Regions from separate parts of the Homo sapiens genome. Here regions 1, 2 and 3 are each linked to region 4. The links are contacts of gene promoters, found by promoter capture Hi-C in blood cells and fetal thymus (Javierre and others, 2016). All regions are on one chromosome and are shown on one strand. Each heading gives the region's core, a stretch centred on a gene start or on the middle of the fragment in contact. The rest is flanking DNA. Distances are from core to core; before and after follow the strand shown.

The links. The method cuts DNA at HindIII sites, captures the fragments that hold promoters and counts their contacts. A CHiCAGO score of 5 or more calls a contact.
Region 1: a contact is called between a fragment that was not itself captured here and the fragment with the promoter of PRKDC in region 4, in 12 of 17 cell types (erythroblasts, activated CD4 T cells, fetal thymus and 9 more). The highest score is 14.1, in erythroblasts.
Region 2: a contact is called between a fragment that was not itself captured here and the fragment with the promoter of PRKDC in region 4, in 1 of 17 cell types (naive CD4 T cells). The highest score is 5.4, in naive CD4 T cells.
Region 3: a contact is called between a fragment that was not itself captured here and the fragment with the promoter of PRKDC in region 4, in 12 of 17 cell types (erythroblasts, neutrophils, activated CD4 T cells and 9 more). The highest score is 12.9, in erythroblasts.

What each region holds. Positions count from the first base shown.
Region 1 is chr8:47,855,945-47,858,644 of GRCh38, reverse strand. It overlaps PRKDC (protein kinase, DNA-activated, catalytic subunit), which reads left to right. Exons shown (of 86, transcript NM_006904.7): 48 at 10-129; 49 at 1,346-1,489. Among named protein-coding and RNA genes, the nearest start is that of PRKDC, 100 kb to the left of the region's middle. RefSeq lists an enhancer at 296-795. The HindIII fragment of the contact is 2,598 bases long and covers 111-2,700 here.
Region 2 is chr8:48,049,339-48,052,038 of GRCh38, reverse strand. UBE2V2 (ubiquitin conjugating enzyme E2 V2) reads right to left here. Exons shown (of 4, transcript NM_003350.3): 3 at 2,061-2,186. Among named protein-coding and RNA genes, the nearest start is that of UBE2V2, 42 kb to the right of the region's middle. The HindIII fragment of the contact is 3,323 bases long and covers 1-2,700 here.
Region 3 is chr8:47,831,795-47,834,494 of GRCh38, reverse strand. It overlaps PRKDC (protein kinase, DNA-activated, catalytic subunit), which reads left to right. Exons shown (of 86, transcript NM_006904.7): 59 at 99-299; 60 at 2,569-2,681. Among named protein-coding and RNA genes, the nearest start is that of CEBPD, 95 kb to the right of the region's middle. The HindIII fragment of the contact is 8,728 bases long and covers 1-2,700 here.
Region 4 is chr8:47,958,757-47,961,456 of GRCh38, reverse strand. PRKDC (protein kinase, DNA-activated, catalytic subunit) reads left to right here and starts at 1,321. Exons shown (of 86, transcript NM_006904.7): 1 at 1,321-1,484. The coding sequence starts at 1,331. It overlaps MCM4 (minichromosome maintenance complex component 4), which reads right to left and starts at 516. Exons shown (of 17, transcript NM_182746.3): 1 at 443-516; 2 at 243-326. The coding sequence starts at 312. RefSeq lists silencers at 83-482, 1,153-1,452, 1,463-1,512 and an enhancer at 1,693-1,852. The HindIII fragment of the contact is 8,899 bases long and covers 1-2,700 here.

The DNA of each region.
Region 1 (2,700 bases), core at 160-2,659, 100 kb after region 4:
TTATTTTAGGATTCAGTGCCAAGAGATCTTCCTTCTTGGATGAAATTCCTCCATGGCAAACTGGGAAATCCAATAGTACCATTAAATATCCGTCTCTTCTTAGCCAAGCTTGTTATTAATACAGAAGAGGTAAGTAATTGATTATTTCTTTATTCTTTGAATAGATTCTGTAAGTCTGTTTATTCAATTCTATGAATGAATCAATTGCAATTCTATGAATATACTTAAAAACACACACAAAAAAGGAAAATATAAAGGGGCAGAGCATGACATTTTTGTTCTCTGATTAGCCACCCAATATTTATCTACTTGTTCATCACCATTCTTTTATCGTTTTTAACATATGTAAATTCACCTCTCGTGAGTTAGAAGTGGTCTTTGTATAAAGTACATGTAGCTGCTTTCTTACGGCTGCCAACGTTCTTTCCTTATAGTAGGAAAAAAAAAAGCGGGGGGTGGAGCGGGGGAGAAAATATTCCTGTTAACTCTATATGAAAAACAGCGGACTCTTAGGCAATTGCTGAGTTCGTGAGGTAGGAGCATCTTGGAGTCCATTTTGGAAAGGCCTTTGAGCTAGACGTGGTGAAGTGCAGTGAGAGTTTGCACTAGGCAGGGAAGGAGTAGCATAGCACGGGTGGTCCCTGGGTGAGCCAAGCAGGTCTGCACTGACTGCCTGGGCTGTGGGAGTGTGGTCTGGACCAGAGCCAGGCCAGGCCATCCAGAGCTATGCAGAGGGTTGGGCTCATTCATTGAGCACCAGGGAACCACTAAGGGCACTAAGTGGTGGGGTGACACCATCCACTTGGCTCCGTAGAAGGTCATTCTGGGCAGCTCTGCAGACATGGCGAGTCTGTCAGGACATCCCTGACAGGCTGCTCTAGGGCTGCAGCAGCACCTTCTTTCCTCGGGGCTCACTTGATTCTTCACACCCTGGGCACATGGTCTCAGGGTGCCATACTGGGGGGACTCAGACAGCCGTGGCCTGAGATCAAGCTGCTGGCAGGGTTGGTTCCTTCGAGAGCTATGAGAGAGCCTGGTCCAGGCTACTCCTAGCATCCGGCAGCCTCAAGCACTATGTGGTGTGTCACAGGCATTCTCCCTGTGTCTTCACCTCATCTTCCCCCTTGTATCTGTCTCTGTGTCCTGATTTCCTCTTTTAATAAGGACACCAGTCATATTTGATTAGGGCCCACACTAATGCCTTCACTTTAACGTGCTTACCTCGCTTTTGGCTTTAGGTCCAGTCATAGTATAAAATTTTAGCTGATGGAAGATACAGTCTTGTATTAATATTTTGGCAATTTAAGACCATTCTTTGATGTTTGACTTTTACATCCTCTTGTAGGTCTTTCGCCCTTACGCGAAGCACTGGCTTAGCCCCTTGCTGCAGCTGGCTGCTTCTGAAAACAATGGAGGAGAAGGAATTCACTACATGGTGGTTGAGATAGTGGCCACTATTCTTTCATGGACAGGCTTGGCCACTCCAACAGTAAGGATTGATGCATCTTTTATGTTAATATATTATCCTTTGCCAATAGCCTATAGAGCCTATGACACATAATTCAGGTCCCTCTCACTGACTGTGCTATGGTTTTCAGCATTTGTTGCTACATTGCTGGTGTGCTCCTAAACCAAATGGCCTCAGCCTGCTTTGGTTTTGTTTTGTTTCCTTTGCCTTTGGTAATTCGTCTGACCTTGCTTTTATTATGAAGCTGTCAGGTGTTTGTTTTGTTTTGTTTGCTGCCTTTACTTGCCTTAGAAATGAGATTGCAAATTTATTAAAACTATGTGTAAACTGAATTTCAACCAACCCTGAATGGGAGGCTCTGAGGACTCCTGCCTTGAAGTCCCTGGATTTTGGCATTTGTGCCATCTTCTCTACTCCCAGAGTATTGACTAATACCAGCAATGGCAAGATTAGGGCTAAAGCAGTAGCTGCCAGATGATAACACCATGTTATGTTGAGGCAAATGCAGTACCCACCAGTGTAGACATGTGTGTGTGTGTTGGTGCTTTGCCTACTCATTTAAAACTGTGGACACTGACAGCATACAAACGTTTTCATGTGAGGAGATGGTAAGAACAGTCTGTATTAAATATAATATACACATGCGGGGCTAGGCATGATGGCTCACACCTGTAATCCCAGCACTTTGGGAGACCAAGGCAGGCAGATCACTTAAGGTCAGGAGTTTGAGACCAGCCTGGCCAACATGGTGAAACCTTATCTGTACTAAAAAAATGCAAAAATTAACTGGACATGGTGCTGCATGTCTATAATCCTAGCTATTCGGGAGGCTGAGGCAGGAGAATTGCTTAAACCCGGGAGGCGGAGGTTGTGGTGAGCTGAAATGGCACTACTGTAGCTCCAGCCTGGGCGACAGAGTGAGACTACGTTCCCCCAGCTCCACCACCACCCCCCCACCACAAAAAAATACGTGGAGCTTTCTCACACGCTTGTCTCTGGATGTACCTATCTCATTTGTTTCACAGTTAACCAAATTTAGATTTCTTTGTCTTAGTGTAATGAAATACTTTGTTTTCTGCTTAATAAAATGAAAAAATTAAGAGGGGTTCAGTTTAACAAGGGTCCGTTGAAAGAGATTGATGTAGCTGTCAGTGGCTCAGCTGAACTCAAGAGAGTGGAACTGCCGGGCTCGAGGTAGCTGAATAAAGCAACAGCAAGCCAGAAAGGTTGCC
Region 2 (2,700 bases), core at 28-2,527, 91 kb before region 4:
AGATGATCTGTTTAAACCTGAACATGTCAGTAATTAAGAATATTAAATGTAAATGGACTAAATGCTCCCAGTAAATCACAAAGACTGACCAACTGAGGACTGTGAGGGCTGGAGAGACTCTCAGGTCCCAGCTCTGAGTTGGCACAGGGGTGGGGGGGTGTTAATGGCCCAGCAGGTGCAGGGCTAAGGTTTCCAATGACCTTTCCCAGCTTCTTCCTTTCTCAGGGTCATGCTTTATTTGGCCTGGTGCCTCCCTGCTGGATGCACCAGCCAATCTGGGGCCCCGCCTCAGACCTGCGTATTAGGTTGGGGTTGAGGGGCAGGGAGCTGGCTGTGAATCCAAGATTCAACTTGTTGCCAGAAGTACAGTTATATGAAGGGGAAATTGAGCAAATAAGTAAATGCACTGGGAAGCATGGGAGCCAGGTTTCTCAACTGGAAAGGAAGAATCATAGAACAAACCCTATAGTTTTAGAATAAAATTAGTGGGAGTTGTTAGTATAAACTCGTGATTTTTAACAGATGGTAAACAGATGAGAAGGAAAGAGAGAAGGAGAGAAGAAAGGAGGATGAATTTGTGTACATATGTGATACATTTGTAGTACAAAATACACTGGTAGAGAGAGGGAACGCAGGGATGGGATGAGAAATCAAGGATACTGAGGCCCTATTTCCTAAGATGGATGATACTCATTTTATGATGATGATATGTTATTTTGCTTCCTAAAATGTATTTTGTATGTGGCGTGCTCTCAACATGGCACCAAGAGAGCCTAGGCTTCAAAGACTTATCATGAACTTAACAATCTACTCATACTGGAAATTCAGCTGTTTCTACTAACTAACTTGTGTGGGTCAAGCAGGGCATGTCATTTTGTTTAAAGAGACAATGGGCTGGACACAGTGGCTCACGCCTGTAATCCCAGCACTTTGGGAGGCCAAGGTGGGCAGATCACTTGAGGTCAGGAGTTGAGTCCAGCCTGGCCAACATGACGAAACCCCATCTCTACCAAAAAATACAAAAATTAGATGGGCTTGGTGGCATGTGCCTTGTAGTCTCACATACTTGGGAGGCTGAAGTGGGAGAATCACTTGAGGCCACAGGAAGTGGGGGAGTACCACTGCACTACAGCCTGGGGGACAGAGTGAAACCCAAAAATAAATAGACAATGATGCTCAGCCATGACTGTTTCAACACAGACATATTTGCTCTTTAAAGAAAAAAACCCTTCATGAATATTCATCCTTTTCATGAACAGTCATCCTTTTAATCCCACCAAATGTACCTTAACCCTCAGAAAAGTAACATTCAAAGAGAAATAATGATCATCTCTTTTTTTTTTTTTTTTTGAGACGGAGTTTCGCTCTTTCACCCAGGCTGGAGTGCAGTGGCACAATCTCTACAAGCGTGAGCCACCATGCCCCGCCCAATAATGGTCATCTTTTTACCAAATAAAGATCAACTGAAATATGACTATTAAGGCAATTAAAACCCTAAGAAAACTTTTGGCCAGGCACAGTGGCTCATACCTGTAATCCCAGCACTTTGGGAGGCCGAGCCGGGCGGATCAACTAAGGTCAGGAGTTCGAGACCAGCCTGGCCATTGTGAAACCCCGTCTCTACAAAAATACAAAAATTAACTGGGCATGATGGCAGGTGCCTGTAATCCCAGCTACTCGGGAGGTTGAGGCAGGAGAATCACTTGAAGCCGGGAGGCAGAGGTTGCAGTGAGCCAAGATCGCACAATTGTACTCCAGCCTGGGTGACAGAGTGAGACTCTGTTTCAAAAAAAAAAGAAAAGAAAAAAAAAGTTTTAACCACCACATGCATCTATTCTAGGCAAGTACATTAAGGTTTTTAAGGATGGCCTAATTTATATTAATAAAAGAAAAACAACATAATGCAACCTTCTTTAGACTTTTGGCTTAACAAAGGTCCTCTTTTAAAAACTTTCTCCTAACTACATATTAATATCTTACATATATTATGGTGTGTGTACGTATAATATATAACTCTATACATTATGTTATATAAAACCAAAATGACTATATTAACTTACCATCCCACTGGAATTATTTATTCCGTTCATATTAATTTTTGTTACAAATCTAACTGACGGAGGAGCTTCTGGGTATTTAGGTCCACATTCTACTTTCAGGCTATATATTCTGTTTTCATAATTTGTCTGGAAGGCAAAAAACAAAAAGATAATCAAAATAACAATACCTAAAATATTAATGTCTAAGTGCTAAAAAAAAAAAAGGGAAAGTACAATATGAATGTACGTAAGACAGTGTTTATGATTAAGAATTTATTTTTCTACATTCAAATTTATTTCACCTATATGGTGAGAAAAAATGCAATAAGCATACTTAAAAATTGAGATTTTACAAAATTAATTCCATGAGATTTTACAAAATTAATTCTACAAAGTATTATCAATATGATCCCAAGTTGCTTTTGTGATAAAAATGATGCCTGTAACAAATTAGAACGAAGAAGGAAAAACGAAAAAGCAAACCACTTAAATTTAGATTTTGCTAAAAAGTTTACATTGTAGAGGGAGGGGCTACTTGAGACTTGTGTTAAACATATATGAAGGTTTCTGTTTTACAGAACAGTTCTGCTTATTCCTATTGTCCCAGAATTGACTATTAACAGTGCCTCCTTTCATTCTCAAAAGGGTCTTGTTGGATAAC
Region 3 (2,700 bases), core at 84-2,583, 130 kb after region 4:
GCCTAGGGTGCCACCAGGTGTGTCCTGGCAGGTGGTCCTGCCCCGTGCACAGAGCTGGGTGATGCTGAGTGCCTGACCTCTCTGATTGCATGTCACAGATGGAAGAAGCTCATTTGATTGGCTGACCGGGAGCAGCACTGACCCGCTGGTCGACCACACCAGTCCCTCATCTGACTCCTTGCTGTTTGCCCACAAGAGGAGTGAAAGGTTACAGAGAGCACCCTTGAAGTCAGTGGGGCCTGATTTTGGGAAAAAAAGGCTGGGCCTTCCAGGGGACGAGGTGGATAACAAAGTGAAAGGTAAGCTGGGTTGCTGAGTGTGCTTAAAATAGCTTCCCCACTAAATTACTGCAGAGCTCAGGTCTGGGGACATTTCTGACTGTATCCATGTTTCCTTCTCATTCGTAATCAAGCCCTTTAAAATTCAGTTAATGTTGCCTAGGCACTCACCATGCTGAAGAAATTGTTTTCTGGGAGTTCCAGAAGAATCCTTCAGTAAGTTATACTCGATCCATTGTTGAGTGATCTTCTGGAGCAGTAAGAGTGGGTGAGGCATTTATAAAGGGGTGATTGTAACAAGAGGTGGAATTAGCAAGCATGGTCTAGGGCTAGAGGGCTTAATACAGGTGGAGAATGAGGAGAGCGTCCAAAAAGACTGGGTGGAGGAAGAGCATTTGAGAGGAGCCTTGGAGCTGGGGGTGCAGGAAGGGAAAGGATGAAAAGGACAGGGATGGAGAAGTGTCAGGGTGGGTAGGCTCAGATCGATTCTGCAGTCCAGGTGAAGGGACGCTTCGGGGCATGCTAGAGTAACGGCAAAGGGTGCTGTGAGGACAGTCTTGTGGGTGTGGGGGTGTATGTCGAACTTCAGCTTTAGGAAGCAGCCTTGTAACGCACCGAGCAGAGGAAGGCACGGGGACTGAATGCCCTTCTCTGAGGTTTGTGTGGGGCAGAAGTGGAGTGATGGGGACTGGAGGCAGGCACCAGGACCTGGTCTTGGCTAACAGATGACCAGAACTAGACGGGTGCCGAGAGGCTGGAAGCAGCTTTTTGTGAGAAAGAAGTGAGGCTCTGGGAGGGAACAAGGGCCCAGAGGAAGGACATGTGCAGAGAGGAAAGGGCCCATGACAGAACCCTGGGGGAGCGCCAGCAGGGAAGCTCAGCTCTGTGGAAGTAAACTTAGAAGAACTTAGAAGCAAAGCTCCCTGCCTTCTTATCTAATCGTAGGAACTGAAACACAGGCAACAAAACTTGCTTTACTCCACCACTCTCTCATACTTTTCAGTCACAAACCTGTGGCCCACACACAGTTCTCTAAATGGAACCTGGAGAGGTCAGTGTGGCCCACCTTTTGGCATGTGCTGTGAGTTGAAGGAGTGCTGGTGGCGGTTGTTCAGGTGGAGCCACCTGGGTGCTGAGAATGGGGTCAGCAGCAGGGAGCTTTCTCTGGGATCTGATGGCTTGGTGGTCTGGCGGGAGTGCTGCTGTGGAGCTCCATACGTGGGGCCCCTGGACTCCCTGCTTTGCAGGGCTGCGGGCGCCAGGCCTGGTGCCATCCTCCTTGGGGATGCTTTGTGAGAACGTGGGTCTTTTCTCTGTGGATGCTCTCGGGATCTTCTCTTTTAAACCAGTGTTCTGACATTGCGCACAAGTGTCCTTGGGCGTAGATCCGTTTCAGTCTGTTTTTCTGGGCATATGGCGGGAGCTTCCAGGCCGCTGACTCTCACCTTCCAGTTCTGGAGCATCATCACAGGTGATTTTGTTGAGTTCTTCATCTCAGTTTGCTGTTTTCTCTTTTTGGAGTCCTAGTGCTTAGATATCTCACCTGCGTGAGTGTCCTTCTGAGGTGTCATATTTTTTCCTTTTCCTCTTTTCTGGGAAATCCCTTCAACCTTATCTTTCAACCTGTGCTTTTAAGTTATGACACGTTTCAGTTTCCATGAGCTTTTTTTCATGCTCTGAACATTTCTTCAGTTCCTACTCTTCTCTTTCTGATAAATGATCATGTTTTGAAATTTTTTCCTGCATGATCTGCTTTTAACAGTTGCTCTTTCCTTGTTGCTTACTTTGGCTTGTGTTGTTCATATTTGAAACTTTCCTTAGAACCTGTCGTGATTTGGAGGTTAAGGCTGGTGTCTCCTGGTGGGGTACTAAACAGGCATTTGGAATCATACGGGTTAGGAGTGTTGCGGTCACCTGTCCCTGGTCAGGTTGCCACAGTCCCGAGGGAGGCTGGTCTGCACCAGGTGTTGAAGCCTCCGAGGCAGCTCCTCTCTAGTTCAGTTAGCCAGAGGCAAAGCACTGCCAGGCGAGTTGGGCGGGGGTTCAGAAGGTGGCTGCGTGCCCTCCCTGGGCCTCCCTCTGGAGGGGCCTGGCCCGTTCAGCGCTCATGCCTGCTGAATCCACTGCTGAGCAGTTCCAGTTGCAGCTGTGGCCCCTGCACTCCTGCTCCCGGTCGCTGCCTCTGCGGCACCTGTAGGTTTTGTCTTTGAGGAAACCCGAGGTGAAAATGAACCAGCAGAGCCAAGTGTCTGGGCGGCGGGGAGTAACTGGGCCTGCTTTCCCTCTCCAGGTGCGGCCGGCCGGACGGACCTACTACGACTGCGCAGACGGTTTATGAGGGACCAGGAGAAGCTCAGTTTGATGTATGCCAGAAAAGGCGTTGCTGAGCAAAAACGAGAGAAGGTTTGTATCTTGTCAAGAA
Region 4 (2,700 bases), core at 72-2,571:
TTGTCTTTTCCTTGGGGCATTATGACTCACCACTGAACCAAACCAAACAGAGGCAAATGGCAATCGAATTAAGCAGCACCCAGGCCACAGCCTGCTGTGGGTGTCTGTGCGCACCAAGCGGCAGCGCCCAGCCCGAGGCTGAGCGCCCGGGTCCCGCGCACCCACCCAGCGCTGCCAGCTGCGGCGAGAGGGCAGACGGGGCGGCGCCGGGGGCTGTAGTGGGCCCGGCTCGGGGGACTCACGCGTCTGGGCGGGGGTGGCCCTTCCACGCCGGCTGCCGCGGCGGCTCGGGGTCGACGCCGGGGACGACATAGTGCTCGGAGTACCTGCGCGACAAGGACAAGCTCGGGCCGGGCCCGCCTCCCGGCTTCCCTGCCCTGCTCCGCAGCGCGGACGTTCCCGTCGGCTCCGCGCCACGCCCTCCCCGCCGGCGCGCGGTTACCGTGGAAAGGCGGCCGCTTGCCGACGACGCTCGCGGACTCCGAGTCCACCTGGCGAGTAGCGCTCCCAAACCGCGAGACCCAGAGTTCCCGCCGGCGGCAAGGTCGTCTCCGCCCCTGGCGGGGCCTCACCAATCACAGCGGCGCTCGTACGTGGCTCCGCCTCCGGGAGGCGCCACTGCGCATCGGCAGGGGGGGACAGTGCCGCTTCTTTCAGCGCCCGTGCGTAAACCAGAAGTAGGCCTCGCTCGGCCCCCCTTGGTCCAGATGGTCTGACCCCCTGCGCGGCAGCGTTTTCGCGGGAAAACTGGGTCCTACAGCACCAGCTCTCGGGGTGTGTTCCTCTAGCGTTGGCTAGGGAGCGTGTGCTTCTTTATCCCTTAGGCGTTTTTGGTTAATAAGGACATTACAGATGCATTTCTCACTTAAAGATTTTTTTTATTAAAAAAAATTAAGGACGGGAGGTGGTGGGGATGGTCTCATTATGTTGCCCAGACTGGTCTCGAACTCCTGCGATCCCCCCGCCTCAGCTTCCTAAAGTGTTGGGACTGCAGGCGGGCATCACCGCCCCCGACCGCGTTTGTCGTTTTTTATCGAGGAACAAACTTGGAACTCTTGACCTAGGCCCCTCGCTTGTTTTATCTGCCTCTGGTATTTATTTAGCCAAGTCCAACACCAAGTAGCCACCCAAACTACCTCCGCAGGTCAGACGTTTTTCCTTAGGTTTCCATGTTGATTCGGGCCAAAGAGGCGCGCTTACTGGCCAGGCCTTCCCGCAGGGGTCCCCGGGAAAGTTCCTGCCGCCGCGCCCCGCAGCCCCGCCTCCGCGCGTAGGGGCATTTCCGGGTCCGGGCCGAGCGGGCGCACGCGCGGGAGCGGGACTCGGCGGCATGGCGGGCTCCGGAGCCGGTGTGCGTTGCTCCCTGCTGCGGCTGCAGGAGACCTTGTCCGCTGCGGACCGCTGCGGTGCTGCCCTGGCCGGTCATCAACTGATCCGCGGCCTGGGGCAGGAATGCGTCCTGAGCAGCAGCCCCGCGGTGCTGGGTGGGTACCGGCCCGAGCTGGGCCGCGGGTGGGTCCTGGCTTCCCGAGTCGTTCTGGAGCCGGGCAGCCCGGCGCTTCTCTGTGTTTAGATGACGGTATTTTGAAGTACAGCAATTAGATTCTTGGGGGAATTTCTGTGTATGTGTATAAAGGGATTTGTCATACTGCTTTTTACCCCCTAGTATTAGAGGAAAGATATTTTAAAGCCAAAGTTGGTGAAAACGACCCCTAATATGGCAATCATTGCTATGCAGAGTGGGGGGCAGGGCAAGAGAAATAATTTTTTTTTTTTTTGAGACGGAGTCTCGCTCTGTCGCCCAGGCTGGAGTGAAGTGGCGCGATCTCGGCTCACTGCAACCTCCGCCTCCCGGGTTCAAGCTATTCTCCTGCCTCAGCCCCCCGAGTAGCTGGGATTACAGGCGCGCGCCACCACGCCCGGCTAATTTTTTTGTATTTTTAGTAGAGATGGGGTTTCACCATGTTGGTCAGGCTGGTCTCGAACTCCTGACCTCGTGATCCCCCCGCCTCGGCCTCCCAAAGTGCTGGGATTACAGACGTGAGCCACCGGGCCCGGCCAAGAGAAAGTATTTTCTTTCACCTGAATCTCGCCTAATCCCACCAGTACCTTTTCCAAACCCCTCTATTTGCCGTTCCTACTTTGAGAAAAATTGAAGAAATGTAATTGAAGTCATGTTCTTTTAACTCTTTAGCAATGCCTGGGTGGGAACTTTTTCCCCTTTGTAGTAAAAGTGCCTCTTTTTAGCATTTTAAATATTCAAATACTTAATTATGTGGATCTCCTGTATTCCTTCTTTAAAACACGAGTATGCAGACCTTGATGTTGTGCCCTATTAAAAGGTGAGATTTTCTTCCGGAGGGTCTAGTAGTGAATATGGTGTAGGAATAACTTAAACAGTTTAAACTAGATGCTATATGTGGCACGGTGCGGTGGCTCATGCCTGTAATCCCAGCACTTTGGGAGGCTGTGGCAGCTGGATCACCTGAGGTCAGGAGATGGAGACCAACCTGACCAGTATGGTGAAACCTTGTCTCTACTAAAAATACAAAAATTAACTGGGCATGGTGGCGAGCGCCTGTAGTCCCAGCTATTCGGGAGGCTGAGACAGGAGAATGTCTTGAACCCAGGAGAAGGAGATTGCAGTGAGCCGAGATTGTGCCACTGCACTCCAGCCTGGGCAACAGAGCACGACTCCGT